5 separate regions of the Homo sapiens genome follow, and all the other regions are linked to region 1. The links are contacts of gene promoters, found by promoter capture Hi-C in blood cells and fetal thymus (Javierre and others, 2016). All regions are on one chromosome and are shown on one strand. The core of a region is centred on a gene start or on the middle of the fragment in contact, and the rest is flanking DNA. Distances in the headings are between cores, read along the strand shown. Region 1 holds the start of SART1 (spliceosome associated factor 1, recruiter of U4/U6.U5 tri-snRNP). Region 2 overlaps RELA-DT (RELA divergent transcript). Region 3 overlaps MAP3K11 (mitogen-activated protein kinase kinase kinase 11). Region 4 holds the start of SIPA1 (signal-induced proliferation-associated 1). Region 5 holds the start of CNIH2 (cornichon family AMPA receptor auxiliary protein 2).

The links. Contacts are between HindIII fragments. The CHiCAGO score rates a contact against its expected background, and 5 or more counts as called.
Region 2: a fragment that was not itself captured here is called in contact with the fragment with the promoter of SART1 in region 1 in 1 of 17 cell types (erythroblasts); the score reaches 5.5 in erythroblasts.
Region 3: a contact is called between a fragment that was not itself captured here and the fragment with the promoter of SART1 in region 1, in 1 of 17 cell types (erythroblasts). The highest score is 6.9, in erythroblasts.
Region 4: a contact is called between the fragment with the promoter of SIPA1 here and the fragment with the promoter of SART1 in region 1, in 8 of 17 cell types (M1 macrophages, endothelial precursors, erythroblasts and 5 more). The highest score is 11.8, in M1 macrophages.
Region 5: the fragment with the promoter of CNIH2 here is called in contact with the fragment with the promoter of SART1 in region 1 in 1 of 17 cell types (total B cells); the score reaches 5.7 in total B cells.

Annotation. Positions count from the first base shown.
Region 1 is chr11:65,960,254-65,963,220 of GRCh38, forward strand. SART1 (spliceosome associated factor 1, recruiter of U4/U6.U5 tri-snRNP) reads left to right here and starts at 1,481. Exons shown (of 20, transcript NM_005146.5): 1 at 1,481-1,840. The coding sequence starts at 1,528. RefSeq lists an enhancer at 1,339-2,126. The HindIII fragment of the contact is 10,638 bases long and covers 1-2,967 here.
Region 2 is chr11:65,669,309-65,672,363 of GRCh38, forward strand. It overlaps RELA-DT (RELA divergent transcript), which reads left to right. Exons shown (of 4, transcript NR_183625.1): 4 at 2,115-2,410. Among named protein-coding and RNA genes, the nearest start is that of RELA-DT, 7.8 kb to the left of the region's middle. The HindIII fragment of the contact is 9,453 bases long and covers 1-3,055 here.
Region 3 is chr11:65,603,210-65,606,017 of GRCh38, forward strand. It overlaps MAP3K11 (mitogen-activated protein kinase kinase kinase 11), which reads right to left. Exons shown (of 10, transcript NM_002419.4): 7 at 2,737-2,808; 8 at 2,552-2,643. Among named protein-coding and RNA genes, the nearest start is that of KCNK7, 8.8 kb to the left of the region's middle. The HindIII fragment of the contact is 802 bases long and covers 1,011-1,812 here.
Region 4 is chr11:65,636,851-65,639,608 of GRCh38, forward strand. It overlaps SIPA1 (signal-induced proliferation-associated 1), which reads left to right and starts at 1,251. Exons shown (of 16, transcript NM_006747.4): 1 at 1,251-1,332. PCNX3 (pecanex 3) reads left to right here. Exons shown (of 35, transcript NM_032223.4): 35 at 1-589. The coding sequence ends at 128. RefSeq lists enhancers at 72-862, 1,814-1,883 and a silencer at 1,094-1,463. The HindIII fragment of the contact is 3,649 bases long and covers 1-1,908 here.
Region 5 is chr11:66,276,925-66,279,932 of GRCh38, forward strand. CNIH2 (cornichon family AMPA receptor auxiliary protein 2) reads left to right here and starts at 1,251. Exons shown (of 6, transcript NM_182553.3): 1 at 1,251-1,613. The coding sequence starts at 1,533. RAB1B (RAB1B, member RAS oncogene family) reads left to right here. Exons shown (of 6, transcript NM_030981.3): 6 at 1-568. LOC107984340 (a long non-coding RNA gene) reads right to left here and starts at 1,601. Exons shown (of 2, transcript XR_001748274.1): 1 at 1,571-1,601. RefSeq lists a silencer at 1,027-1,356. The HindIII fragment of the contact is 7,021 bases long and covers 1-3,008 here.

The sequences.
Region 1 (2,967 bases), core at 231-2,730:
GACGCCCAGTGAGTGGGAGAGGGGGTGGATCCTTAAAGGGGCGCATACAACATAGCCTAACACATGCTGAGTTGTGCCACACAGGGAGCCACAGACTGAGCAACCACTGGGTGAGGGGAGGGGTTTCAGGAGAGATTGGGATTGTGTGCACTGCGCTTTTTTTTTTTTTTTTTAAGACAGAGTCTCGCTCTGTCACCAGGCCGGAGTGCAATGGTGTGATCTCAACTCACTGCAACCTCTGCCTCCCAGGTTCAAGCGATTCTCCTGCCTCAGCCTCCTGAGTAGCTGGGACTACAGGTGTGCGCCACCACACCCAGCTAATTTTTGTATTTTTAGTAGAGACGGGGTTTTACCATGTAGGCCAGGATGGTCTCGATCTCTTGACCTCGTGATTCGCCTGCCTTGGCCTCCCAAAGTGCTGGGATTACAGGCGTGAGCCACCGCGCCCGGCCTGCACTGGGGTTTTAAGTCCCAATAGTTTTAAGTTAGGGCTGGTCTCCTCAAGAAAAAAACTCATACACACAGATGTGCCACATTTTGCATTCAATTTCAGGGGTTCCAGGGATACACTGACGCCCATGTGGAGCTCCTAAACAATCTTAACAGTTCACGGGGCCAGGTTTTAAAAATCCAATCCAGGGCCAGGCGCAGTGGCGCATGCCTGTAATCTCAGCACTTTGGGAGGCCAAGGCGGGTGTATAGCCTGAGCTCAGGAGTTCGAGACCAGCCTGGCCAACATAGTGACCCCACCCCCTACCCCCGCTCCCCACCAACCATCTACAAAAAAATACAAAAATTAAAGGGGCGTGGTAGCGTACTCTCGTAGTCCCAGCTACTGGGAAGGCTGAGGTGGGAGGATCACTTGAGCCCAGGAGGTCGAGGCTGCAGTGCGCTGTGATCACGCCACTGCACTCCAGCCTGAGCAACAGAGTGAGATCCTATCTCAAGGGAAAAAACAAAACAAAACAAAACAGGGAACGTGGGAAGGAAGCGTTCCCTGACGATACTGGTTATAGCGGGTCTGAAGCTGGGCTGTGGAATTGGAGATCTCGGGAAAACAACACCCGTTGGAGCCACGACCCTAGGAGTCCACTAAGCGAGCGCCCATTGTAGGAGGGAGGTGTCTACGGAAAGACCGTGAGGTAGTGAACACCCCGTTGCCGGTGAAGTGCAAGCGCAGGGAGGCCGGGGAGGAACTTAAAGCCACGAAGACACTGACTTAATGGGCTCTAAGTCCTTCCAGTTCTGGGATCCCACCTCCGGGTTAATTCCGCTTCCCTTGAGGAGCGCATGCGCAATGGGACCACTCGCTCAAAGAACCCACCCGACCCGAGACGGCGCGAATGTGCAGTCGAGCGCTGATCCCGGCCTTCCCATGAGCCTCTGGGGCAGGCTCCAAGGCGAGCGACGGAAGCAGCCGCTCTTAGTTTCCGGCAACACGACAGCGGCTGCCGAGCGACCCGGAAGTATTCCCATTTTGCGTTGTCTGGGCTCGGCGGCAGCCGGGCTCGGAGTGGACGTGCCACTATGGGGTCGTCCAAGAAGCATCGCGGAGAGAAGGAGGCGGCCGGGACGACGGCGGCGGCCGGCACCGGGGGTGCCACCGAGCAGCCGCCGCGGCACCGGGAACACAAAAAACACAAGCACCGGAGTGGCGGCAGTGGCGGTAGCGGTGGCGAACGACGGAAGCGGAGCCGGGAACGTGGGGGCGAGCGCGGGAGCGGGCGGCGCGGGGCCGAAGCTGAGGCCCGGAGCAGCACGCACGGGCGGGAGCGCAGCCAGGCAGAGCCCTCCGAGCGGCGCGTGAAGCGGGAGAAGCGCGATGACGGCTACGAGGCCGGTGAGGAGGCGGGGCCTGCGCAGGGGGCGGGTCGGGCGGGGGTCCCGGAACGCGTGGGTCTGGGTGTGCGCGCAGTGTCAGCGAAGCTCTTCAGGCCAGGAAACCCCCAAGCTGTTTACCAGCTCTATTAAATAGTCTTTCTACGGGATCCCTTGAGCCCAGGAGTTAGAGGCTGCAGTGAGCTGCGGTCCCGCCAGTGTACTCCAGCCTGGGCAACAAAGCGAGACTCTGTCTCAAAAAGAAAAAAGTCTTTCTACGGTTGTTTAGGATTAGAGGTTGACTTTCTCCACTCAGCTGCTTGAGGACAGAGGGCTTCTGTTTTCCTCAGTTGTCTGGTACAATCAGATTCTCAATAAATATGTTGAATGAGTGAATGAAGTAGTGTCAGCATATACAGAGGCAAGAAAAACCTGGTATTGGACGAATCGTGTAGGGCGCATGGTAGAGAAATGAGGGAGTAAGATAGACAGGGATGTGAACACAAAGGACCCTGTACTGTAGTCTCTGTTAAGAACTGTAGATTGTCTTGAGGATAGTAGGGAGCCATGGATGTGAGTTGAGGAGTGAGTTGCTCAGATCCGTATTTTGTAAACATCACTGGATTGAGAATTTAGTCAAAGGTAGTCAGGACTGGAGACCAGGAAACCAGGAGGGCTATAGGCCAGGGGAGGGCTGATGGTGGCCTGCACCAAGGCAGCAGCAGTGGGATTGAGAGAAGTGGACAGGTTGGAGAGGTGTTTTGGAGGAGGAATGAACAGAACTCAGCACTTGTATGAGGGTGGGAAGAAGGAATGGAGGATGACTCCTTGAATTTTGGCTTGAGCAGCCAGATAGGTAGTGGGTGTCATTTCTACTGAAATTGAGGAGTAGGGAAGAGAAGCAGATTTGGAGCGGGGGTGGGGGGAGATAGTTCACTTTTGGGGTTGTCAAGGTTGATGGTAATGGGGAAATCCAGAGTTTGGACTGGATAAAGCCATTGGGAGTCAGTATCTGGGTGGCCAGTGAAGCCCCTGAAAGACTGTGACATGAGAAGAGGGGGTCAGGACTAGAACCTGAGAAATGCCCTTATGTTAGTAGTAGGCAGAGAAAGATGTTACCAAAAAAAGGAGACAGAGTAACCAAAAAGG
Region 2 (3,055 bases), core at 198-2,697, 290 kb before region 1:
TCGCTTGAACCCGGGAGGTGGAGATTGCAGTGAGCCGAGATTGAGCCATTACACTCCAGCCTGAGCAACAAGAGTGAAACTCTGTCTCCAAAAAAAATAAAGACAGACATATGACCAATTGTACAGAATAGGGAGCCCATAAAAATAAAACCTTTCCATATACGGCTGAATGATTTTCAACAAGGGCGCCAAGACCATTCACTGGGGGAAAGGACAATCTTTTCAACAAATGGTTTTGGGAAAATTGGGTATCCACATGCAAAAGAATGAAGTTGACCCTTACCTAACACTATATACAAAAATTAACTCAAAATGGTTCAAATGGCTGGACCTGGTGACTCACATCAGTAATTCCCGCACTTTGGGAAGCCAAGGCGGGAAGATCACTTGAGCCCAGGAGTTTGAAACCAGCCTGGTCAACATAGTGAGATCCTATCTCTACAAAAGAAAAAAAAAAAAAAGAAAAAAATTAGCTGGGCATGGTGGTGCATGCCTGTAGTCCCAGCTACTCAGGAGGTTGAGACGGATTGCTTGAGCCCAGGAGTTCGAGTTCACAGCAGTGAGCCATGCCACTGCACTCCAGCCTAAGCGACAGAGTGTGACGCTGTCTCAAAAAAATAAAGAACTGGGGCCGGGCGCGGTGGCTCACGCCTGTAATCCCAGCACTTTGGGAGGCTGAGGCGGGCGGATCACGAGGTCAGGAGATCGAGACCATCCTGGCTAAAACGGTGAAACCCTGTCTCTACTAAAAATACAAAAAAAAATTAGCCGGGCACGGTGGCAGGTGCCTGTAGTCCCAGCTAGTCAGGAGGCTGAGGCAGGAGAATGGCGTGAACCTGGGAGGTGGAGCTTGCAGTGAGCCGAGATCGCGCCACTGTACTCCAGCCTGGGCGACAAAGCGAGACTCTGTCTCAAAAAAAAAAATAAATAAAATAAAGAGCTAAAAAGGGACCAAATACCTAAATGTAGGACCTAAAACTATAAACTCAGAAAAAAACATAGTGCCCCATGTTTTTGATTGCTTATATGTTATTATTTACGTTTTTATTGTTTATATGTTATCATTTATGTTGTATAATATTCATGACATTGAATTTGGCAGTGATTTCTTGGATACAACATAAAAGCACAGACCACAAAAGAAAAAAATAAATTAGGCTTATAAAAATTAAAAACTTTTGTACATCAAATACAATATACTGAAGTAAAAAATCAACCCACAGAATGGTAGGAAATATTTCAAATTACATATCTGATAAGGATTAATACCTAGAACATATAAAGAACTAATAATAGGCCGGGCGCCGTGGCTCACGCCTGTAGTAATCCCAGCACTTTGGGAGGCCGAGGCGGGCGGATCACGAGATCAGGAGATCGAAACCATCCTGGCTAACACGGTGAAACCCCATCTCTACTAGAAATACAAAAAATTAGCCGGTCATGGTGGCGGGCACCTGTAGTCCCAGCTACTCGGGAGGCTGAGGCAGGAGAATGGTGTGAACCCGGGAGGCGGAGCTTGCAGTGAGCCGAGATCGCGCCACTGCACTCCAGCCTGGGCAACAGAACGAGACTCCATCTCAAAACAAAACAAAACAAAAAAACAACAAAAAAAAACACACAAAGAGATACCACTTCACACCCATTAGGATGGCTGTTATCAGAAAAATAAGGTAACAGCTGTTTGCTGAGAAATATGGAGATGTGGAGAACACGTGGAGAAATTGGCACACTTGTGAATTGCTGGTGGGAATGTAAAATGGTGCAGTCGCTCTGGAAAACAGTATGGCGGTTCCTCAAAAGAATTAAACCAGAATTAACACATGATCCAGAAATTTCATAGTACTCAAAACTACTGAAAGCAGGAACTCAAATTGATATCTGTACACCAGTGTTCATAGCGGCATTATTCACAATAGCCAAAAGGCGGAAACAACCCAAATGTCCATTGACGCATGACCAGTGTGATAGTTAATTTCATGTGTCAACTTGACCAGCCCAGGGAATACCCGGATAGCTGGTAGAAAATTATTTCTGGGTATGTCTGTGAGAGTGTTTCTGGAAGAGGTTAGTATTTGAATCAGACTGAGTAAAAGGATCCACCCTATCCAACATAGGTGGCCATCATCGAATCCACTGAGGGCGCAAATAGAACAAAAAGGTGAAGAAAAGGTGAATTCTCTCCTTTCTTGAGCTGGGACATCCAACTTCTCAGACATCAGAGCTCCTGGAGGCCTTCAGACTCCGAGACATTACACCATTGGCTCACCTGGTCCTCAGGTCTTTGGACTTGGAATGAATTACACCATTGGCTTTCCAGGTCTTCCAGCTTGCAGATGGCAGATTGTGGGACTTTTCAGCCTCCATAACTTTGTCATCCAATTCCCATAATAAATCGCCTCTTATATCTGTATCTGTTTGGTTCTGTTCTGGAGATCCCGGATTAATGCAAATGGATTAAAAAAATGCGGCCGGGCACGGTGGCTCATGCCTGTAATCCCAGCACTTTGGGAGGCCGAGGCAGGTGGATCACTTGAGGCCAGGAGTTCAAGACCAGCCTGGCCAACATGGTGAAACCCCACGAAACCCTGTCTCTACTAAAAAAAAAATACAAAATTAGCTGGGTGTGGTGGCGCACGCCTGTAATCCCAGCTACTTGGAGGGCTGAGGCAGGAGGATTGCGCGAACCCAGGAGACAGAGGTTGTAGTGAGCTGAGATCACACCACTGCACTCCAGCTTGGGTGACAGAGTGAGACTCCATCTCAAAAACAAAACAAAACAAAACCCCAAAATGTGGTATATACATGCAAGGGAATATTATTCAGCCTTAAGGAAGGGAATTCTGATACATGCTGTATTGAGGAGCCTTGAAGGCAACATGCTGAGTCAAAGAATCCAGACACAAAAGGACAAATGTTATATGATTCTACTTATGTGAGATACCTACAATAGTCAAATTCATAGAGAAAGGAAGTAGAATACCCATTACAAGAAGCTGGAGAGAAGGGGAAATGGTGAGTTAATGCTTAACAAATGCAGAGTTTATGTTGGGGATGA
Region 3 (2,808 bases), core at 162-2,661, 360 kb before region 1:
GTTCTGAAGGGTAAGGGACTTGGTCAACATAATCCAGCTAGGATTTGAATCTGCCTCTAAGCTTCCTGGCAGCAAGAGTTAGCAACTCTGTTGTTTAGGAGAAAGCTGCGTGACTATTCTTGACCCAAAGATAGATAGATAGAGGCGAAACTGCTTCCGTGAGGTCTCACAGGGAGGACACAGCCACGTAGTTATTGGCTCTAAGGCAACAAGCTTCACAGGGCAGTTGCTATCAGCGTAGCTGAGTGCACCCTGCCAATGTGCCACTCCTTGCAGCCAGCTCTCCAGGGACCAGAACAGCCCACTGGGGACAGGGTGAGGGTGTGTGTGACTCTCCAGTGGTATGGCTTATGCCGGGGACCATCTCACAGGGTCTGGGACCTCTGTGAAGCCCCATTATTTGATTCTTAGCTGGGTTTCGGGGGGTGGCTGTGAGGTCAATGTCATGTACTTTCATGGACCCAGATGATGCGTGGAGTGTGGGATTGGGCTAGGGGAACCAGATGCTCAGCCAGCCACTGAGCTGGGCAGCTGACATCCTTTCAGGGCAAGTGGCAATCCATTTCTTCATCAGCCAGGAAGGGCACTGGTGTTGAGGCCGACATACTTATCAAGAACAGTAACTACCATGGTTTCCAGTGCTTTCATGAAACCTCAGACATGTGGCCTTCTGGCCACACATCTGCAATTTCATATTGTGGGAGCATTCACTGTATCCCTGGGGGCTGCGGCTCTCTCAGTTTGCAGGGGCTGGACCAAGAAAGAAGGCATTTCAGATTTCTATGGGCACAGATGTCTACAGAAGTTATGATGCCATGAAATACTTCGAGGAGATGAGGAAGGCTGCTATCTCTCAGAATGCAAAGTGATTTTGGAATATGAAGAATTTCTTTGGGTTGAATTACTTAGAAGTTTGTCACTGATCTGAACTATTCATGAATATATGGGCTAATAAGTAGTTTCTCTTCATAAATAATTAACAAATTCTTTGGATAAAAAAACATGGGGCAAGCTTGAGAACGATGGGGCCCAGGCCCCTTGTGCCCCTGCTTCTGGGAGCTGAGGGCCAGAGAGTTCTGTGGAACAGTCAGGACCTGCTTCAGCCTACACACCTGGGTTGACAGGCTCTCAAGTTCTCCTTTGGCCCATCTGGCCTGGTACAATTTAGAGCAAGTGAATTCAAGAAGCCTCCTTGGCCTTCCAGCTCTCAGTTCAGTCCCTGCAGGACAGATGCTGGGGGCAGTGCAGCTGCTGGAGTAGCAAATGGCGGGGCAGATGGAGGCCCAGGGCTCTGCCTCTGTGGTCAGACAGGCAAGAGCAGATCAAATCCCTGCTCTACTGGTTGCCTTACATCAAACCACTTAATCTCTCTGTGCCTCAGTTTTCTCTGTTGTAAAATGCAGGCCAATACTACTACTCCCCTCACAGAACTGCTTGGCACATAGAAGAGAACCAACAAAGGTTAGCTGTTGTTACAACTATCAAGTGTAGCTCAGGGAATGGAAGAGGCGATGGGCTGGGTGGGATGGGAGGAGTGAGTTTAAACGGCTTGCTGAACAGGACTCTTCTGAGAGCAGCTAAGCGGGTCCTACATTCTGGCTGTGAGCAGCAGGTGTGGGGGCTCTGAGGATGGTCCCTAGGTTGGCACAGGGACCCACAGGCAAGGGAGGCCATAACTCTCTGGCCTCACTCAGAGCTGGGCAGTGTTGAGCTGAGTGAGCCCTCCTCCCTGCAATGCTGGAGCCCTGCCTTCTGCCTGACCCTCTGGCTTCCTAAGCAGTCTATACGTGAGAAGCCCTTTCTTCAAGTGAAAGCTTCTGAGCTCACTACGAGAGCATTGGAGCTGAAGCCTCTCTGGGTTCAAATCCTCAGCTGGGGGTTTGAGGTAGGTTACTTCACCTCTCAGAGCCTCAGTTTCCTTATCTGCAAAATGGGGTAATAGTAGCCCCTCTTCATCAATGCTTGGAGGGAATGCCTGGCACAGTAGGGCAGTTACCGTCATGGAGAACAGAAAGGCCCCGAGCTATCCTGGATGTGGTGAGAATGGGTCCTGGATCCTGCCTGCTCGGCCTTCTCATTCTCTTCTTCACCTACAGGCTCCCAGAAGGGGCTCTGAGAAGCACAGTGTGGCTGACACTTGTTTGGCTCCACCCCACACAGGCTGATTCCTTCCCCCATCTGGGTCCAGCTTCCCTTGGGTACCAAATGCCAGGTGGGCTTCCTGTCTTTCTTTTCTCCCTGGAGCCTGCTAAAGGCACAGGGGCTGCCATGGGGCCAGGGAAGAGGCTTCTTGCAGGCCAGGTCTGAGCAAGGGGATGAGACTCTGGGCCCCGAGCCGAGGCCTGGGCTGTATGCCGCTTGATCGTGGGCCTGTAGGTCAGACCTGGGTTCCAGGATCGGCTCTGTCTTGTCTCAGCCTTGGTTTCCTAGTCTCTAGAATGAGAGCAACCAGGGCAGGACTCCTGCTTTGCCTACTAGCCTATTGTGGCCTCCCCAAGGTGCCCACGGAAGGAGCTCAGCCAGATCCTGCCGGGGGAGGAAGGCCACTCACCATTGAGTGCTGGGGGTGTGGAAGGAGATCCTAAGGGGGATGAGTCATCTGAATCCAGGTACCATGTGGCTTCGTCCATGCGGGACCTTCTCCTGGTGATGGGAGGGCAAGGAGGGGTGCTTTAGGAATTTCAGGACTTGGGGAAAGCAAATGATGCTGGGTCTGGGGGGCACTCAGGTACTCACCTCCCATTCTGGGCTTCCCCAGGCTTGGGGGAACTGGGACCCCAAGCCCAGCATGCTCGCCGCTCTCCATTG
Region 4 (2,758 bases), core at 1-2,500, 320 kb before region 1:
ACATTCCTTGCTTGGACAGCAGTGCCCCTGAGAGTGGCACACCTATGGGTGCCCTGGGCGACTGGCCTGCCCCTATTGAGGAGCGTGAGAGCCCGGCAGCCCAGCCCCTGCTGGAACACCAGTACTGAGCTACCTGGCGCCCACTGGACCACCTCCTAGGATTCAGTAACGGACCTGCTCTGCTGCCTCTCTGCTGGACCACAGAACTGAGTGGCTTTGGCCTACATGTCTGAACCCTGACCTTTGGCTGCCTTGGCCAGAGTACCAAAACTGAGTGACCCAGACCTCTGACCTTGACCCCTGATCTCTCTCATCCCCAGTCCAGGGCCTGGGCTCCCCAGATGGAGGCAGTCAGCCTCCCAGCCAGGCCCTAAGAGCCAAACCATGGGCTGGTCCCACTTGGAGCCTGTGGCCAGGACCACCTCAGCCCCTGGGCCTGCACTGCCTGCAGGTGTGGCCCCCTTGGCCTGGACCTGGGGCCTGAATTGTGGGAAGGGTGGTTTCTTTCTTTCCTTTTTTTTCTTTTCTTTTTTTTTTTTTTTTTTGTGCTTCGGAGACATCAGAATTAATAACACTATTTTTGATTTTGGTTGGCAGTTTCTTTTTCTACCTGGGAATGGGTACATGATAGTACAGGCGGCTAAGTTGGGATGGACAAGCACGCAGAGGGGTGAAGGATGTGGGGCTGAAGTCTAGTAGAGATCAAGGGCAGACCAAGGTGGGGTTCAGGTAGAACCGGGTCCTCTTCACCGCATGGCTGCTCCCTTTTCAAGCCTTTATCTGAAGGGTATTGTCTGCCATTTCCCACCATATGGTCAGACTTCCAGGTCTGGTGGCTCCTACATTTATCAGGCTTGTTCTTGGCCAAAGCCTTTCTCTGCACCTCAGCTGCTCCAGGGCGTAAAGAGATGACACCTATCTAAGGTGTTTTTAGAATAAATGAGAGCGCGCTAGTGGAATGGTTGCCCAGGGCCCAGTGCTTAGCAAGTGCTCCATAAAATAGTGGCAGACTCTTGAGCACCTGCTGGCCGGGAGCTGGACGCTAGGTGGCCTCCGCTAGCCCTCCCGGTTGGTCTGGAAGGCAGGCACAAGTTTCTCAGGAGAGGAAATGGCCTTAGAATGAGCACTGCTCGGTGCTGACCTCCGCCAGGCCTGGAATCCCCGCTGCTGCGCTTCCCGCCGCAGACAGCTCCCGGCCGGCCCCGCCTCCCGGCATGGCCCCGCCTCCCAGCATGGCCCCGCCCCCAGGCGGAGCCGGCGCCGGGAGCGGTAGCGGGAGAGCGGCAGCGGGACCCCAGCGCGGGCGGCGGCGGCTGGGCGGGAGCCCCAGAGGTACTGGCGGGAGCAGGGGACGGGAGGCACTACTGTCGGGCCCGACAGGGGAGAGGTGGCCTAGCCGTGGGCCCGGGTGATGTGTATGGGAGTGGGGTCCTCGCCACGTTCGCCGCCAGCACCCTCCCAACTTCCCTCCGGGCTCCAGCTCAGTCCCGAGTCAATATGTCCAGCCCCCTGTCTCTGACCAGCCGTTCCTACTCTCTCTGTGTGACGGCTTAGCCTGGCCAGCCAGCCGGTGAGTGGAAGCGGCGGCTCCTGACTCCTGGTGGCGGCACTGTGACCCCCTCCCCCTCAACACTGCAAGTGTGTGCGGGGCTCCCCCTTATTCTGAGGCTCCTCTTCTTCTTAGGCGGCCTCCACCCCAGTCCCTGGCCTGGCCTGGGAGGAAACATCTGTCGCGCCCCCTGGCAGCCGAAATGGGGTCATGACCTCCAGATGTGCTGGGAAGTGGCCAGCTCCTCCTCCTGGGGCAGCCAGGCCTTCCGGATCTGTGGGGGCGGGGCCGGCCCTTTCCCCCCACCCCTAGTGACACAGGCCCGGAGGAATGTCCTAGCCTCAATGGACCCTGTGTGAAGCTTCAGGGTGGGGGGCAGAGCCCGAGAACACCCCTCAAGGCAGCGCCAGAGCCTGGCACTGGGCCACAGCAAGAGGCAGCGCACAGGCTGGGTGCACACATGCACAGATCTCACTTCCAAGCGTGCAGAGCTCAGCCCACAAGGAGCGGGGCTTGCACAGACCCCCTCCCTCATGCCCTCCTACTCCTTCACACACTATAGCCCAGGCCCGAGCGCTGAATGTGCCCAGAGCTTGGCTCATGGAGCCAGGGGCTACACCCGTCACACACACACATAGCTAGCGACACTCACCTCATTCTTCTCAGTCTCTCAGCAGCCTTGGGAGGGGACAGAAATAATTAAACCCAATTTTTTTCTTTGTTTTTTTGGAGACAGTCTCACTCTGTCCCGCAGGCTGGAGTTCAGTGGCGCGATCTCGGCTCACTGCAACCTCTGCCTCCCAGGTTTAAGCGATTCTCCTGCCTCAGCCTCCTGAGTGGCTGGGACTACAGGTGCGCACCACCACACCCGGCTAATTTTTATGTTTTTAGTAGAGACAGGGTTTCACCATGTTAGCTAGGCTGGTCTTGAACTCCTGACCTCAGGTGATCCCCCCGCCTTGGCCTCCCAAAGTGCTGGGATTACAGGCCACAGCCACCGCACCCGGCCAGTTAACCCCATTTTAGAGATGAGAAAACAGAGGCTCAAGGTCAGCATGGGAGTTTATTCAGGAGAAATCAAGGTAGAAGCACCTGGGCTGGGGAGCCGACTCTTGCTTGGTTCTGGAGGCCCCAGACGAAGGGTGTGTGGAGCCCCTCCTCCACCCCCCTCCGGCCCAGCCCCGCATGATGTTGCTGGATGCTGCATGA
Region 5 (3,008 bases), core at 1-2,500, 320 kb after region 1:
AGACAGACCCATGCGCTGCCTGCCCACCGTGCCCCTTTGTCCCCATGTCAGGCGGAGGCGGAAGGCCCACCGTGCCAGAGGCTGGGCACCAGCCTTAACCCTCACTCTGCTAGCACCTCCTCCCTTTCCCCAAGGTAGCACATCTGGCTCACTCCCCACTCCGTCTCTGGAGCCCACCAGGGAAGGCCCTCATCCCCTGCCGCTACTTCTCTGGGGAATGTGGGTTCCATCCAGGATTGGGGGCCTCTCTGCTCACCCACTCTGCACCCAGGATCCTAGTCCCCTGCCCTCTGGCACAGCTGCTTCCTGCAAGAAAGCAAGTCTTTGGTCTCCCTGAGAAGCCATGTCCCTCGTGCTGTCTCTTGCCTGTCCCACCTGTGCCCTGCCCTCCAGCTTGTATTTAAGTCCCTGGGCTGCCCCCTTGGGGTGCCCCCCGCTCCCAGGTTCCCCTCTGGTGTCATGTCAGGCATTTTGCAAGGAAAAGCCACTTGGGGAAAGATGGAAAAGGACAAAAAAAATTAATAAATTTCCATTGGCCCTCGGGTGAGCTGAGGGTTTTTGCAAGGAAGTTGTGGTGGCCAAGTGTGGTCTGTGGTCTAAGCCCAGCCTTGGGGTGGGGGGATGGAACTGGAACCCTGGGCTTGGTGGGGTGCACGGGGGTCCTGGCTTGGTTTCTGTGTCCTAAGGCTGCTGGCAAAAGCCCTTGACCCCGTTTCCTGAGGCCAGGAAAGCTGCTTGTGCTTCTGTGGTCTGTCCCCAAGGGCCCAGCACCGTTCTGTCAGGGAAAGAGGCAGGCGGCCATCAGCTCATACCTGGCGTGCCGCCGCCAACTCCCGCGGGGCACACGGCAGAGGTGTGGGGTCGCGCAGCCGCTGAGAGGGCCCCCACTGCACCTGGCCCAACCTCCTTCAGCGCCCCCCAAAACCCCACTGCTCCCATTCAGCCCCTGTCCTGGCGTCATTGTGTGTCCCAGCCAGGTGCTTCTGCCGTCTCCGACAGTGACAAGTGCCTCGCACTTCAGCCTTTGCCCTGAGCGCCCGCCCGAGGGGGCCGAGTGCGGCTGTGCCGGTGGCTGGAGTGCCGAGGGGTGCGGGGTGCCGGGGGCGGCCGCGTCTACGCTGTCCGGAGGGTGAACGGCCGCGGGCTTGTCGGGGCTGGGGGTGGCGCCCGAGCCGGGCGGGCAGACGAGGGGCCCGCGGAGACCCAGCCCCGCCCGAGGCCGCTCGCGCGGCGGCCCCGCCCCCGGCTCCGCCCCGCCGGCTTCGCGGGCTGGAGAGCGAGGGAGCCGCGGGCGAGGGATCGCAGGATGAGCGATCGGGGCCCGGGCAGCCGGCAGCGGACGCGCCCCCCGAGCCCACCGGCCCGCGCCCCGCGCCCCCCACGGCCCCGCGGTCCCGGTCCCGGCCGCATCACCCACGTCCCCCGAGCCCCACGGGCCATGCCCGGCCGGCCCTAAGCGCGGGCCGGGGGGCGTCCCCTTGCGCCCGGGCCCCGCGCTGGCGCCCCCCGGGCCGCCGCCCGGCGCGGGGGCCATGGCGTTCACCTTCGCCGCGTTCTGCTACATGCTCACCCTGGTGCTGTGCGCCTCCCTCATCTTCTTTGTCATCTGGCACGTAAGGCCGGGCTGGGGCTGGGGCTGGGGGCGGGGTGGGGGGCAGGGGCCACGCGGAGCTGGAGGGACCCAGGGCGGGTGGTCTCAGAGCCCAGGGGAAACTTGCTATCCCCCAGCCGTCGGCTTGTCGGCTTCGCCCCCATTAACACCCCCCGTGGTCGGCTTTCTTCCCGGGGCCCCCCTTCCTCCGCCGCCCCCGCCTGTCTGTGTGTATGTCAGTCGGTCTCTGACCCCCTCCTCTGCCCTCGTCCTCTGCTCCCATGCAGCCCGTGAGGTGGGGGGTGGAATTCTGGCATTTTTGTTGCTTTATCTTCTATGTCCCCCCCCACCACCATCCAGCCGCCTCCATTAGTCCGTCGGGCAGTTTGTCTGTCTGCTGCCCCCCCCCCCCCGCCTTTGTGGGTTTTTCCAGCCAGAGTGATGGAGCTGGTTGCTATGGCAACTGCATCTGTTTACAGGACCCACAGATCTCAGAGTCCATTAACCCTTTGCCTTCCCAGCCCCCTCCCTGACCAAGCAGCAGTTGGCTCTCATCAGCCCCCAGAGACCTAGCCCCCACCACCGGCTCACCTTGGGTTTCCCTACCCCTCCTGTTGGGGGCTTCCCAGCCCCCCAGGTTTCCTCTCCATTTTCCAGCTTCCCTCCTCTTCCTGTCCCCCTTCCCCTTTGTCTCTCACATACCCCTTGGTCTGTCCCTCGCCCTGGCCTAGCCTCACACCTGGTTCTTCAAAATGTCCATTCCTCATCCTGCATCCGACCCATCGCTTCCCCCAGGCTCCCTCCTCCTCCCCTCCCGCTCCTCTCCTCCAGGGCCTCCTCTGCCTGGCTCCCGTCCCCTCACTACAGAACTATCAATCAGCCTCCAGCTGGTTGTTGGGGGCCCCTGGCCCCACTTTACTGCCCTCCGTCCCCACCCCCACCCAAACCCCGTGCCTGTTTCTGTAACAGCCTGCCCAGCTCGGCCCTGGCTGGCTCAGCTCAGCATCCTCTGCTCACACCTCCCGCGCACACCTCCCTGATTGTCATTCCCTTTCAGGGGTCCTCTTATCCCTCCCTCAATCCCATTTCCCATAGCCCTTCCCTCCTTCCTCCCGGTGCCTCACCTGCTTCTTTCCCGGGCTCTCCACTTCCTCTCTCCTTTCTCTTCCTGGGACCTGCCGCCTGCTCCATGGTTCCCCCTGCGCTCCCTTTGCCATCCCCTGCCACCTTGCTCTTTGACATCGGGAATCCATAGACTGAACCCCTACTGTGTGAAGAGTGAGCCCCCAAAGGCACCTCAGCACACACCCCAGCTCCAGCCCTGTCACTCCTTGGCCTGGCTCTGCTCTCTCTCTGGGTCTTGGTTGCTTTGTCTTTCCCCCTCTCCCCCGCACCCCGAGTTACTCTATTTTTCTTT